Regions from separate parts of the Homo sapiens genome. Here all the other regions are linked to region 2. The links are contacts of gene promoters, found by promoter capture Hi-C in blood cells and fetal thymus (Javierre and others, 2016). All regions are on one chromosome and are shown on one strand. The core of a region is centred on a gene start or on the middle of the fragment in contact, and the rest is flanking DNA. Distances in the headings are between cores, read along the strand shown. Region 1 overlaps LMLN (leishmanolysin like peptidase). Region 2 holds the start of RPL35A (ribosomal protein L35a). Region 3 has its middle 22 kb from the start of LMLN-AS1.

The links. The method cuts DNA at HindIII sites, captures the fragments that hold promoters and counts their contacts. A CHiCAGO score of 5 or more calls a contact.
Region 1: a fragment that was not itself captured here is called in contact with the fragment with the promoter of RPL35A in region 2 in 1 of 17 cell types (megakaryocytes); the score reaches 6.0 in megakaryocytes.
Region 3: a contact is called between a fragment that was not itself captured here and the fragment with the promoter of RPL35A in region 2, in 1 of 17 cell types (naive B cells). The highest score is 7.0, in naive B cells.

Annotation. Positions count from the first base shown.
Region 1 is chr3:198,029,374-198,033,414 of GRCh38, forward strand. The region is part of intron 15 of LMLN (leishmanolysin like peptidase); the gene reads left to right. Among named protein-coding and RNA genes, the nearest start is that of LMLN-AS1, 8.1 kb to the right of the region's middle. The HindIII fragment of the contact is 2,427 bases long and covers 790-3,216 here.
Region 2 is chr3:197,947,885-197,951,575 of GRCh38, forward strand. RPL35A (ribosomal protein L35a) reads left to right here and starts at 2,306. Exons shown (of 5, transcript NM_000996.4): 1 at 2,306-2,337; 2 at 3,052-3,094; 3 at 3,275-3,427. The coding sequence starts at 3,084. All of the region lies in intron 2 of DRC9 (dynein regulatory complex subunit 9), which reads right to left. RefSeq lists enhancers at 1,709-1,928, 2,008-2,790, 3,574-3,691. The HindIII fragment of the contact is 8,868 bases long and covers 1-3,237 here.
Region 3 is chr3:198,059,558-198,063,253 of GRCh38, forward strand. It overlaps the pseudogene ANKRD18DP. Among named protein-coding and RNA genes, the nearest start is that of LMLN-AS1, 22 kb to the left of the region's middle. The HindIII fragment of the contact is 1,296 bases long and covers 640-1,935 here.

The DNA.
Region 1 (4,041 bases), core at 753-3,252, 81 kb after region 2:
TTCCAAAAAACTACAGCCTCAGGCCAGGCGCTGTGACTCATGCCTGTAATCCCAGCACTTTGGTTGGCTGAGGCTAACACTTGAGGTCAGGAGTTCGAGATCAGCCCAGGCAACATGGTGAAACCCTGTCTCTACTAAAAATACAAAAATTAGCCGGGCATGGTGGCCGCCTGCCTGTGATCCCAGATATTCAGGTGGCTGAGGCATGAGAATCGCTTGAACCTGGGAGATGGAGGTTGCAGTGAGCCAAGATCGCACCACTGCACTCCAGCCCGGGCAATGGAGTGAGACTACATGTAAAAACAAACAAACAAACAGAAAAACACACAAAAAACTAGAGCCTCTGTTATTACTTCCCTAATGTTTATTACTTCTTCCCAGAGTCTTCACTTTCAATTCTTAGTTGTTGTTTTGTTGGGGGTGGAGGAGTCAGGGGAGACTTACTATTTGCTTTCTTATTTTTTTTTATTATTATTACTTTTTTGAGATAGATTCTTGTTCTGTCTCCCAGGCTGGAGTGCAGGTGGCATGATCCCTCGGCTCACTGCAACCTCCGCTTCCCAGGTTCAAGTGATTCTCCTGCCTCAGCCTCCCAAGTAGCTGGGATTATAGGCGCCCGCCACCATGCCTAGCTGTTTTTTTTTATTTTTAGTAGAGACAGGGTTTCACCATGTTGGCCAGGCTGGTCTCAAAATCCTGACCTCAAGTGATCTGCCTGCCTGGGCCTCCCAAAGTGCTGGGATTACAGGCGTGAGCCACTGCACCTGGCCTGCTTTTTTATTTTTAAAAAGCTTATATTATTCTTTCATAAGGTTTGAATTTCAAATGTTAGCTGTTGACTTTGGAAAATAAGAATTTAGTTGGTTCGCCTCGTCCTCTTGCTGTGTTCACTTCCTCTTTCCCCATCGTACACTTCTTGTTTCCCATCCTCCCAGTGGTGATTATGGATAAATACGTATTCACTGTTTACATTACCAGGACTATGCAGACGTGGCGCCTGGTAGCATGCAATCATTACTTCCCCGTTCTCCCCAGTATTTCGTTTTCTCTGGATTTAAGACCTTGTTTTTTTGCAATTAGTTTTCTTTGTATTTAGCACTAATTCAATTCTAAGCTCTTCTCCCAGTTGGGCTCATCTCCTTTCAGTAGAACCAGATACCTGAGGTATTCTATCCATTTCATCTTGAGGAAATCTCTTCTGGACATTTCTGGCCTGTGCTAATCTCGACTATATAATCCTTATGTTGGCAGCACAGCTGGCATCTTGGGATCTCGAGTCAGGATCATCCTGGAGGTCCCTCTGGTCCCTCTGTCTCTCTCATATTGGATCCCCTCCTTCATGGATTTTGTGTCATATTCTTTTTTGGATTTTTTTTATTTTAATGGAACATATCTTCTAGTGGAGATTTGAGGAGTATGTGACGGAGAACAATGTTGAGACTTGCATGTCTGAAAGCATCACTGTTCCACTGTGACGCCTGCTGACAGCGTGGGAAGGCGGGACTTCATCTCTGCCCTCAGGGTCTTCAGCTAGTTTCCACCGTGATGTGACGCCTGCTGACAGCGTGGGAAGGCGGGACCTCACCTCTGCCCTCAGGGTCCTCAGCTAGTTTCCACCGTGACGCCTGCTGACAGCGTGGGAAGGCGGGACCTCACCTCTGCCCTCAGGGTCCTCAGCTAGGCCTGAGAATGAAATAGGCATAAGCCCGATGAACAGGAGGAAAACATACACATTTATTTAATCTAAGTTTTACATGACACAGGAGCCCACATGAGTAAATGAAAACTCAAAGAAGTGTGAAACCTATATACTTTTATACTACATTGAACAAAGGGAGACAGTTACAGAAAAGTAAAATGTATGCGGAGGCTAAAGGAAGATAAGAATTATTTTAAGAAGGTCTGTTTGTACCAAATTCTTTGGCTTTGACTCCCCATATTGGTGATAAAAATGTTTGTTTTCTCCTGGAAAAGGAAGGGTATTATTCATGTGGGAGTTGTGTCTTCTGCTTTCAGGAGGAAGGGGGATGTCAGAACAGTCTTGCTGGGTCTGCTGTGTTGAAGTCCCTTTAGCTGGAAACCTTTGTGCCAAAACAGCACATTTTGGGGTGGCGTGTTCTGCCGTCCTTCAATAGCTTGGGTGGGTATAGCTTTATTTTTGAAAATTATTTTCCTAATGGATGATTGGGTGCAGGAAAAAAAGAAAGAAAATTATTTTCCATCAGAATTCTGAAAGCATTTTTCCTTTGTGTGCTGACTGTCAGTGTCATTCTGAGTTTCAATTGCCAGAATCTTTTTTCTTTCTTCTCTGGAAGCTGTAAATTCTTAATTTTAACTTCGCATACCACATCCTCATCTGCCACAAGCCCCAGTATTCCAAAATTTAATGGGTTGATTCTATTTTTGGTGATCATTAACAGCCTGTTCATATTCAAGAAGTGACTGGAGCCTGGCACAGTGGCTCACACCTGTAATCACAGCACTTTGGGAGCCCGAGACAGGCGGATCACTTGAGGTCAAGAGTTTGAAAGCAGCCTGGCCAACATGATGAAACCCCTCATCTACTAAAAATACAAAAATTAGCCCGGTGTGGTGGTGGGCGCCTGTAATTCCAGCTACACAGGAGGCTGAGGCATGAGAATCACTTGAACCCAGGAGGTGGAGGTTGCAGTGAGCTGAGATGACACTATTGTACCACAGCCTGGGCGACAGAGTGAGACTCTGACTCAAAAAAAAAAAAAAAAGAAAAGAAAAGTGCCTGGAAGCCAGTTTGGAAGCTCTGAGCACACACATAGGGCTTGTTGACTGTGGTCTCCCTATGGGGCTCCTTTCTTACAAAACCTTTGATGTCCGTCCTTTTGACGGGTCAGATTGGTCAGAGAAACTGCCAGTGACCCGCCTAAGTTTATATGCTGTCAGAGTTCTAGGAAGGAAGTCGATTTTGAATGCTTTAACCTGTAAACTTCGAGTCCTTATTTTCATGATGGCATCCCAGCTCTCTGCTGTACTTAGTTTTCCCCAGAACAGAAAAACTCTGTTTTACCCTTTCCAAAAAATAAATCTCCAGTATGCTGGTGTATTAGTCCATTTTGCGTTGCTGTAAAGGAGTATCTGAGGCTGGGTAATTTATAAAGAAAAGAGGTTAATTTTGGCTTACAGTTCTGCAGACTACAGGAAGCATAAGTGCTGTCATCGGCTTCTGGTGACGGCTCAGGAAGCTTACAGTCATGGCGGAAGGCAGAGTGGGGGCAGGCTTATCACATAGAGCGGGAACGAGAGAGGAGGGAGCTCCCGACCTCTTGAACAAGCAGATCTCTGGGGAACTTATTCCTGTGGGGAGGGCACCAAGCTATTCATGAGGGATCCATCCCCATGACCCAGACACCTCTCACTAGGCCCCACATCCAACACTGGGAATCATATTTCAACAGAAGATTTGGACAAATACCCAAACTATATCAGCTGGGTTCGGAACGAACTGGTCCAGCTGGTCGCAGTGAGGGAGAGGAATGCTGGCGTCTGTCTCTGAAACAGACGTTTGTCTAATCCTTTTGATTGTAGCTCTTACTTCTTGGTACCAGGTGTGGCTGTGGCAGTCCTGAGCCCTCTTGTGTTCTGCAGATCAGTTTCTTCCTGGCTCTTCCTGTTGCTGGATTTTGATCCAGCTTTCCTGAGTCTGTTATGTCTGCTGCTACCTGTACATCTACCCTCCTGCCCACACTTAATTCCCAGAATTCCACAATGAGAATACTTCAACTTCAGCAAGGGAGTTTTCCTCTTGTCCTATCAACACTCTCATATAATTCTCATCTCTAAGCCATGTGCATTCTGCTTCCCAACCTGTAACATCTGCCCGGCAGTAGTCCAAATCCTGTGTACATCCTTAGGATGCAAATGCTGTCTTCCATGAAAGTTTCTAATATTTGTTCTTGTTTCTACCATTTATTGACTCTTAATCATAAAATAGTCTGGTACTGTTCATTTTTTGCTTTTTCTTCTAATTTCAAAATACAGTTAGTATTTTATAAAAAAAATTATTAT
Region 2 (3,691 bases), core at 1,056-3,555:
CCGGGAGACTCCATCATCCCTTGTAGTTTCACTCCTGCTTTACCTTTTTTTTTTTTTTTTTTTTTTTTGAGACGGTCTCACTCTGTCACCAAGGCTGGAGTGCAGTGGCAGGATCTCAGCTCACTGAAACCTCCCCCTACCAGGTTGAAGCGATTCTTGTACCTCAGCCTCCCAAGTAGCTGGGATGACAGGCACACACCAACACCCCTGGCTGATTTTTGTATTTTTAGTAGAGACAGGGTTTCACTATGTTGGCCAGGCTGGTCTCAAACTCCTGACCTCAAGTGATCCACCCACCTCAGCCTCCCAAAGTGCTGGGATGACAGGCGTGAGCCACTGCGCCCGGCCCATACTTTGTTTTAAAAAGTATTCTTATCATGCTCTACTAATGGTCATCACCTGCAGTTTGAAAAATGCCTTAACTGACACTTGTCCAAGTGATCCTTTCGCTGACTCGTCAGGCCAGATCAGGCTTCTGGGCACTCATGCCACTACTTTCCCGCAGAGCTGTGTTCACAATTTGTTACGTTAGTGTCAGTTTCCCCCCACTAGACAACTGTTCCATGAAAGCAGCAACATGACAACGATGCTCACAGTTGTATCAGGTGCTAAGTCTCAGTGCTCAATAAGTATTTGTGGAACGAATAATACACGAGCAAACGAATGAAACTCACACTTAATGTGTTATTCCTCCCAGGAGGACTTCCATATAGAACTTTGACAAATCAATATCTAATAGTGAAATTTCTAGCACATTTCTTTCTGGGACAGGGAACACTGGGTGGGGTAGTAGGCTACAAGGTACAAGTTCTATCCTGTTGTATTTAAGAGAGGATCTGATTTTAAAAGTGACTTATATACATCTATTTCATACAACTTCGGAGTCATACTTTACTCTCTCTCATTCCTCATCCACCAGCAAATCTTGCCAGAATTTAAATATATTCAGAATTCCAGTACTCAATATCCTCTGTTTACACACCATCACCTCTCATCATAGTCACTACAGGAACCTATAATTATCTTCCTGCTGATACCCTTGCCTCCCTTCACTTTCAACACAGTGACTTTGTCAATATAGAAGTCAGATAGAGTCACCCTTCTGTTCAGGACCCTTAAATAGTTCCCATCTCAAAGCAGGGGAAGCCTCTTTTACATACTTCCCATCTCAAAGTGGGGAAAGCCTCTTTTACAGTGGCCTCTCTGCTTAATTTTCTTCACAGAAATTATCATCTTCTAACGTGTCATCTATTTTTACTTGCTCATTGTGTTGCTCCGCCTCGTAGGATATAAGCTCCACGAGGGCATAGATTTGTTTACTGCCGTGTCATCTTACACAAACCTTGGTACAGGGTAGTCATTCATTAAACTATGTGTTAAATAAATGAATGAATCCATAGGATAACCCAAATAAATATGCAATAATTCGGAAATGTGAATCTCTGGCGTCCACTAATCCACCTCTACAAGTATCTACGGAGGACCTACTAGGTGCGGACACGAGGCAGCTAAACGAGTTCTCCTAAAAGGGCGATAAAGCCTCCTGCAGGCAGTCCTCCTCATACCTCGGATCCAAAAAGAAGAATGGAGGTAAGAACTTAAGTCATTTCATTCATTTTTTTTTTCTTTTGTAGAGGTTGGGGGAGGTGGTCTCACTATGTTGCCCAGGCTGGTCTCGAACTCCTGGCCTCAAGCGATCCTCCCGCCTCGGCTTCCCAAAGAGCTGGGTTTACAGGCGTGAGCCACTGTGCCCAGTCTCATTTCTTGAAAGAGATAAATAAGTAGAGGGGAGAAAAGAAGTATAGAAAAAGAAAAAAGAGAAGGAAGAGGTCCTGCTGCCTTCGTGCTCCCGGCCTTTCTCTTCCATGCTAGATTAGGATCCCAGAATTTCCGTTCTGTCTATTGCTGTGTGTATCGAGAGAAAAGCACCCCACTGTTGGCAAATCAATCTTACAGTCAATCATTCTTTAGGCAGCGGGAACATCCTCCACTCAGGGTTCGCCTTTCCACCTACGGCGTCCGGGGACGCAGGAAGTAAACTAAGTTGTTTCTATGGCAACGCACAGCTTTGGCGGATTTAGCTGGCTACCATTTTGCCTTCCCTTGTTCCCAAGTAGTACATTTTGCAGCCTACCAAGATGAAAGGACTTAGGAAAATAATTGTAAGAGTGCTATTGAATGTGGCTTATTTCAGTGCGAAGCCGATTTCCGAGGATTGTTTTTCTGGCGTTTGGAGAAGATGCCTAAATTGAGGGCGGAGTCGAAAGATGTTTAATCCCACAAGGCCACGCGGCGGGGCCTCGTCCTTCTCTTACCGCCATCTTGGCTCCTGTGGAGGTGAGTGAAGGGTCTGCTGCTGAAATTTGGGGGCAAATAACCGGAGTAGGTTTGTTCCTGTGCCTTGGCGAGTCGCCGGTGCGTATCGGAGTCTCTGCCAGCCATTGATTTCTACGGGTTTCAAGAAGAGGGAGAACAGGATGGAGGAGATGTTGGGCTGATGGTGTTTGGTCCCCTGACACCCGGAGAACGGCTGCCCGGGTTATCCCAGTTAAATTCCTGGGCCTGAACGGAGTGAAACGATGTTTTTGTTCGTGTGCAGTTGTCCATGAGGCAGTGCTTCCTTCATCCGTTTCCTCCCAGTCCATACCTTCCTTGGCTTGTCTGACCAGTCTCTTTCCTCAGCTTTTCTCCCCCAGCCATTGCATAAAAGTCTTACGTGTGTGTTTCTCTTTAAGGCTTCATTTCTTTTCCTGAGTGTTGCCTACTGATAACGGCATGCATTTTCTCAGGCTTTTCTGAGAGTCATTTTTGTGACTCCTGTCCCTTAGTTTTGTCTTCATTCTGAAGTTTGCTTAGATACCAGCTGTTCTCTGAGGTTTGAATGTCTTGCCGGACCCTGCGTTTCATATGGATGTTCTGGCATTGTTGTCCCCGAACTCCTACATGAAACTCCCATCCAAAAGGAATTTGCTTTAGGGGCTTAAACGAGAGGGGACGAGGTGGGAAACTTGTGTGGCTTGGTTTTAAACTAATCTTTTTGTTTGTTTTAAGGCCTGCTGGGAACGGGACTTCTAAAAGGAACTATGTCTGGAAGGTACGCGTTTTAAATATAGTTCTTTATTTTTGTGTGTTAGACGTGAACGTAAATGCGAGCTTAAAATTGGCAAGAAAAAACTTAGATGTTTGCTCTGAGTAACTTTTGGGTGGGGGTGATTACAAGTCAGATTGGTTTTTTGAAGCTTATGTTTCATGTTGTGTATCTTTTGTGTCTTAGGCTGTGGTCCAAGGCCATTTTTGCTGGCTATAAGCGGGGTCTCCGGAACCAAAGGGAGCACACAGCTCTTCTTAAAATTGAAGGTGTTTACGCCCGAGATGAAACAGAATTCTATTTGGGCAAGAGATGCGCTTATGTATATAAAGCAAAGAAGTAAGTTTATGACACTGGTAGGTTTTGGGTTTTTGAGATCTGCCTCATTTTCTTTTTTATATAACGGAGTCTTGCTCTGTTGCCGAGGCTGGAATGCAGTGACTTGGTCTCCCTCACCGAAACCTCCGCCTCCCGGGTTCAAGCAAGTGTCCTGTCTCAGCCTCCCGAGTAGCTGGGATTACAGGCGCCGGCCACCACGCCCGGCTAGTTTTTGTATTATTAGTAGAGACAGGGTATTGCCATGTTGGCCAGGCTGGTCCCAAA
Region 3 (3,696 bases), core at 38-2,537, 110 kb after region 2:
AAGTCAATGAATCCATAAAACTAAAAACACACACATACACACTAGAGAACTGTTAAGAATATCAGAATTGGAAAAGCCTTTCTCTGAATTACAACAAACTCAAAGCATAAAGTAAAATATTAACAAATTTGACTAAATTAAAATATTGGAAAAAGGAAATTGCATTTATACTCTGATATCTAACCCAGATACCACCCTGTAGTAAGAGCTTTACCTCCACGTGTATTTGGACCGATAAAATTTCTCAAAGTTTTAGAAGTTCTGTTTCCCTGATAATATTCTATTGTGATTTGACTCAACATTTTTAGTCAGTTATAAGAATTTCATTTACTAAATCATAAATCTAGACATTGTACTAAGCACTTCTACGTACATACATTGATGAATTTCTTATCACAATTCTTAAAAAGAGAGGTTAAAAATATAAGCAAGCTGCAGGATGTTCCCAGGGCTTCTGACTCTACTTCTAGTTCTCCACCAGATCACAGTTACTTCTGTGGTGTAAATATATCAACACAAAAACAGAGAAACAAAAAGACACAGACATAAAATGTGTCTTCTGTCTTTGTCACCTGGATTCTCCATGAAATAGCCAGATTGAGAGGAGGTGACCTTGTGGGGCTTCAGAAACAGAAAAGAAGCTTTCCCTGTTCTGCACTAAGCTGTTATTTTCCCCACTGTCTTTTATCCTTATTTTTTCACTTGGATCCTGGGATATCAAAAAAGTGAAGGTGCTCACTGAAATAGAGGAACCAAAGTTTACCACAACTCAAGGAGCAGAGTGACACTGCTGAGTTGCTAGTGCAGAATCCTAGAAAATGAGATGTTCCCCAAGTTTACATTCAATCACCACAAAAGTTTATAGCTGGAAGATATACAGAATAGTTGTCTACTCTAGCCCCATTATCTACTTGATAATAGAAGTAAAACCAATAAATATTAAATAATTCACCCAAAGCTCCTAAGGTGGCATTACCTAGCACTTCATGGCACCAAAAGGGAAGATACAATTACATATTGCTGCATTACATAAATTACCAGATAAATATATCAAATTAGTCAAATAAATTAAAAGCGTGACTTTGGCAAAGCAATTTAATGCCTCAGAGGATGGCAGGAGGCCTCATCTGCTTTTAAGAAAATCTCTAGATTTTTGTCTATCTTTAGAACACAATGTACAGAACTCAGCTTTCCACTATAGAGTCAAATGATAAATATTTGGCTGAGAAGTTATGCTACTTACATGATAAAATCATACATGTCAAAACTTACCATATTTTATTAAACAACATAATGTAAAAGTGTGATTCAACAGAAACATTGGAGAGTGGTGATTTTTTTTAAATATGCAAAAGTATATGTATTTGTTTCCAAAAATATTTAAAATGGCCATTATGGAATTATAAGTTTAAACAGCTTGAGTCAGACAAATAAACTTGCATGCATGAAAGCACATTAAACAGACGCCTTTGGCTGATAATATTTGTTACAAGTCTCCAGGCTAGATACATTTTCATGTCTCTTCTCAGTCATTGTTTCCCTCCCATCGTGTTACCATTTTATCATTTAAATAAATGTAAGTCATCTTTAAATGAATACAGTAAGAAGAATCTAGAGCTTATTTCTTTAGCAATTTTCTTTATGTTTAGCTGATTCAGAAGGTCACATGGCATATGGCTAAATTATTTTCCCAGCCCATGTGCCACTTGGAAGACTGATAGTGAGACTCAGGTTGACTAATGAACAAAGATTATGAGAGTGTTTTCCAGAACTGTCATTTAGATAGCAGCACTGATCTACTTAGACACATAATTATGCATTTAGATAACCACACTGTAACTAGACACATGAGATTTTCTTGAGTAGAAAACCAGAATGAATCAGATAATTTATAAAAAGAGAAGCAGCAAGTGAACCTCTTTCTTTTTATAGTTAAGCTTTCTTTCTTCAAAGCCAGGAACTCTACTTGTAACATGCCCACCTCATTCTTAAGCCTTTGCATATCTTGCTGTAAGTCTTCTTCTAGATATGCTTTTGATGTTCTGTCACTATGGGGTGGAGAATAACTCACATTTTCTCATGCAGGTTTCATGCTTTTATAGCTATTAGCAGTGGAACTGTCTTATGTGGCTCCCTGAAACATACTTGCCAGTCATCTTCTAAGCTTTAGAAGAGCTTCTAAGTTCCATATGGCTTGTGGAACAAGTGCTTACTGGATTTTTGTTTTTGTAAGTGTCTGTAACAGCAGAAATACTGTGGCTTTCTATCTGTATCACATGCTTCATTTCTTTAGAGTAAACAAACCACAAATCAAACAGACTTTTTGGATCTCTAGACTGAGGCCAATGTCTAATGTCTAATTTCCAATTAACGGTATTTTGGTTTATATTTTTTTGTCATTTGCATATCAAACTCTTGGTCCTCTTTCATTTCAACCATAACTACTGGGTTCCCTAATTTTTCTATTTCTGTATCATTACAACAATTCTCTTCATCTCTGAGAAACAGGCTACATGTCTGGATAGTTACAAGTTTTACAGTCTGATTTATTTTCATTTGAATAAAGCTTAGAAGATGACTGGCAGGTGTGTTTGAGGGACCCAGAGTATAAATACAATGAAAAGACAGGTTTGTGATGTTCTCCTCCTGTTCAGGCAATGCCTGGGATACTACAGAGTTCGACACTCCAAGATGCATCTGCTTCCTTGCAGTCAGGGACATGATTCATTGGGTTAGAGGGCACTTCCTTTAATTTTGTCCCTCTTTAGAGTAACTATGTAAGAGCTCTTCCTCAGGACAAACAGTAATTTTGGATTTTTCAAAACTTTCACCAATTTTCAGTTGAACTTTCTTGTAATTAATTTTAAAGGAAGCCCTGAATATACAGATAAACACTCTTTATCACAATTCTTACTCAGTTCTGGTTCTTGAGACATTTTTTTGCAGGTGCAAAAGTGGAAAATTAATTTGCTTGTTTTGTTTCTCAGATGTCTTTTCTGTTAGGGTGCATGTTTTAAAATTAACTTTATTCTGAATTAAGTATGAATAAAAAAATAGAAAATAATTAAAATGTAACTGTAAAACTTAATCTATGTTTTGCTATCCCTAAGTTACTGGATTATAACTAAGAAGTAAAAAATAGTTTGCCTTGGCTTAACATAGGAGAAAAACATGAACCAGCAAGCTTAACTCTCACTGTTAGTTTGGACTAAACTTAATTCATTATGAATTAAATCTGCCAGAAATGGGCTCACAGATGATATGTAGTATTCTAAAGGCTTTCTCTCTTAAAAGGATTTTGACCTCAGGATACCATAAATAGTGAACCCCTACAGTAAATTCATATTTCTGAAGATTAACTGGAGAGTAGGCAAATGCTAAACTATTAGAAGCCAAAATGAACACCAATCAGAAAGAGAATAAAATTTTTAGATTCTACTTCAAATGCTATACTGTAATATGAGTGTTATCTAGATAGATTATCCACTTATATCCAGTTCTAATATACTCTAAGTCCCACTAGTGACAATGGATTAAAAGATTTTAATAACATTTACTATTTATACTAAAATAAGAAGGTTATTGTTTGTACCCTGATACCAAAGTCCCATTCTGGAAGTCATAATTCTCTTAATAGGCAGCTGGGTTGATTTTATGACCCCATTCTCTCCCTGAACAAAGACACTGAAGGCAACC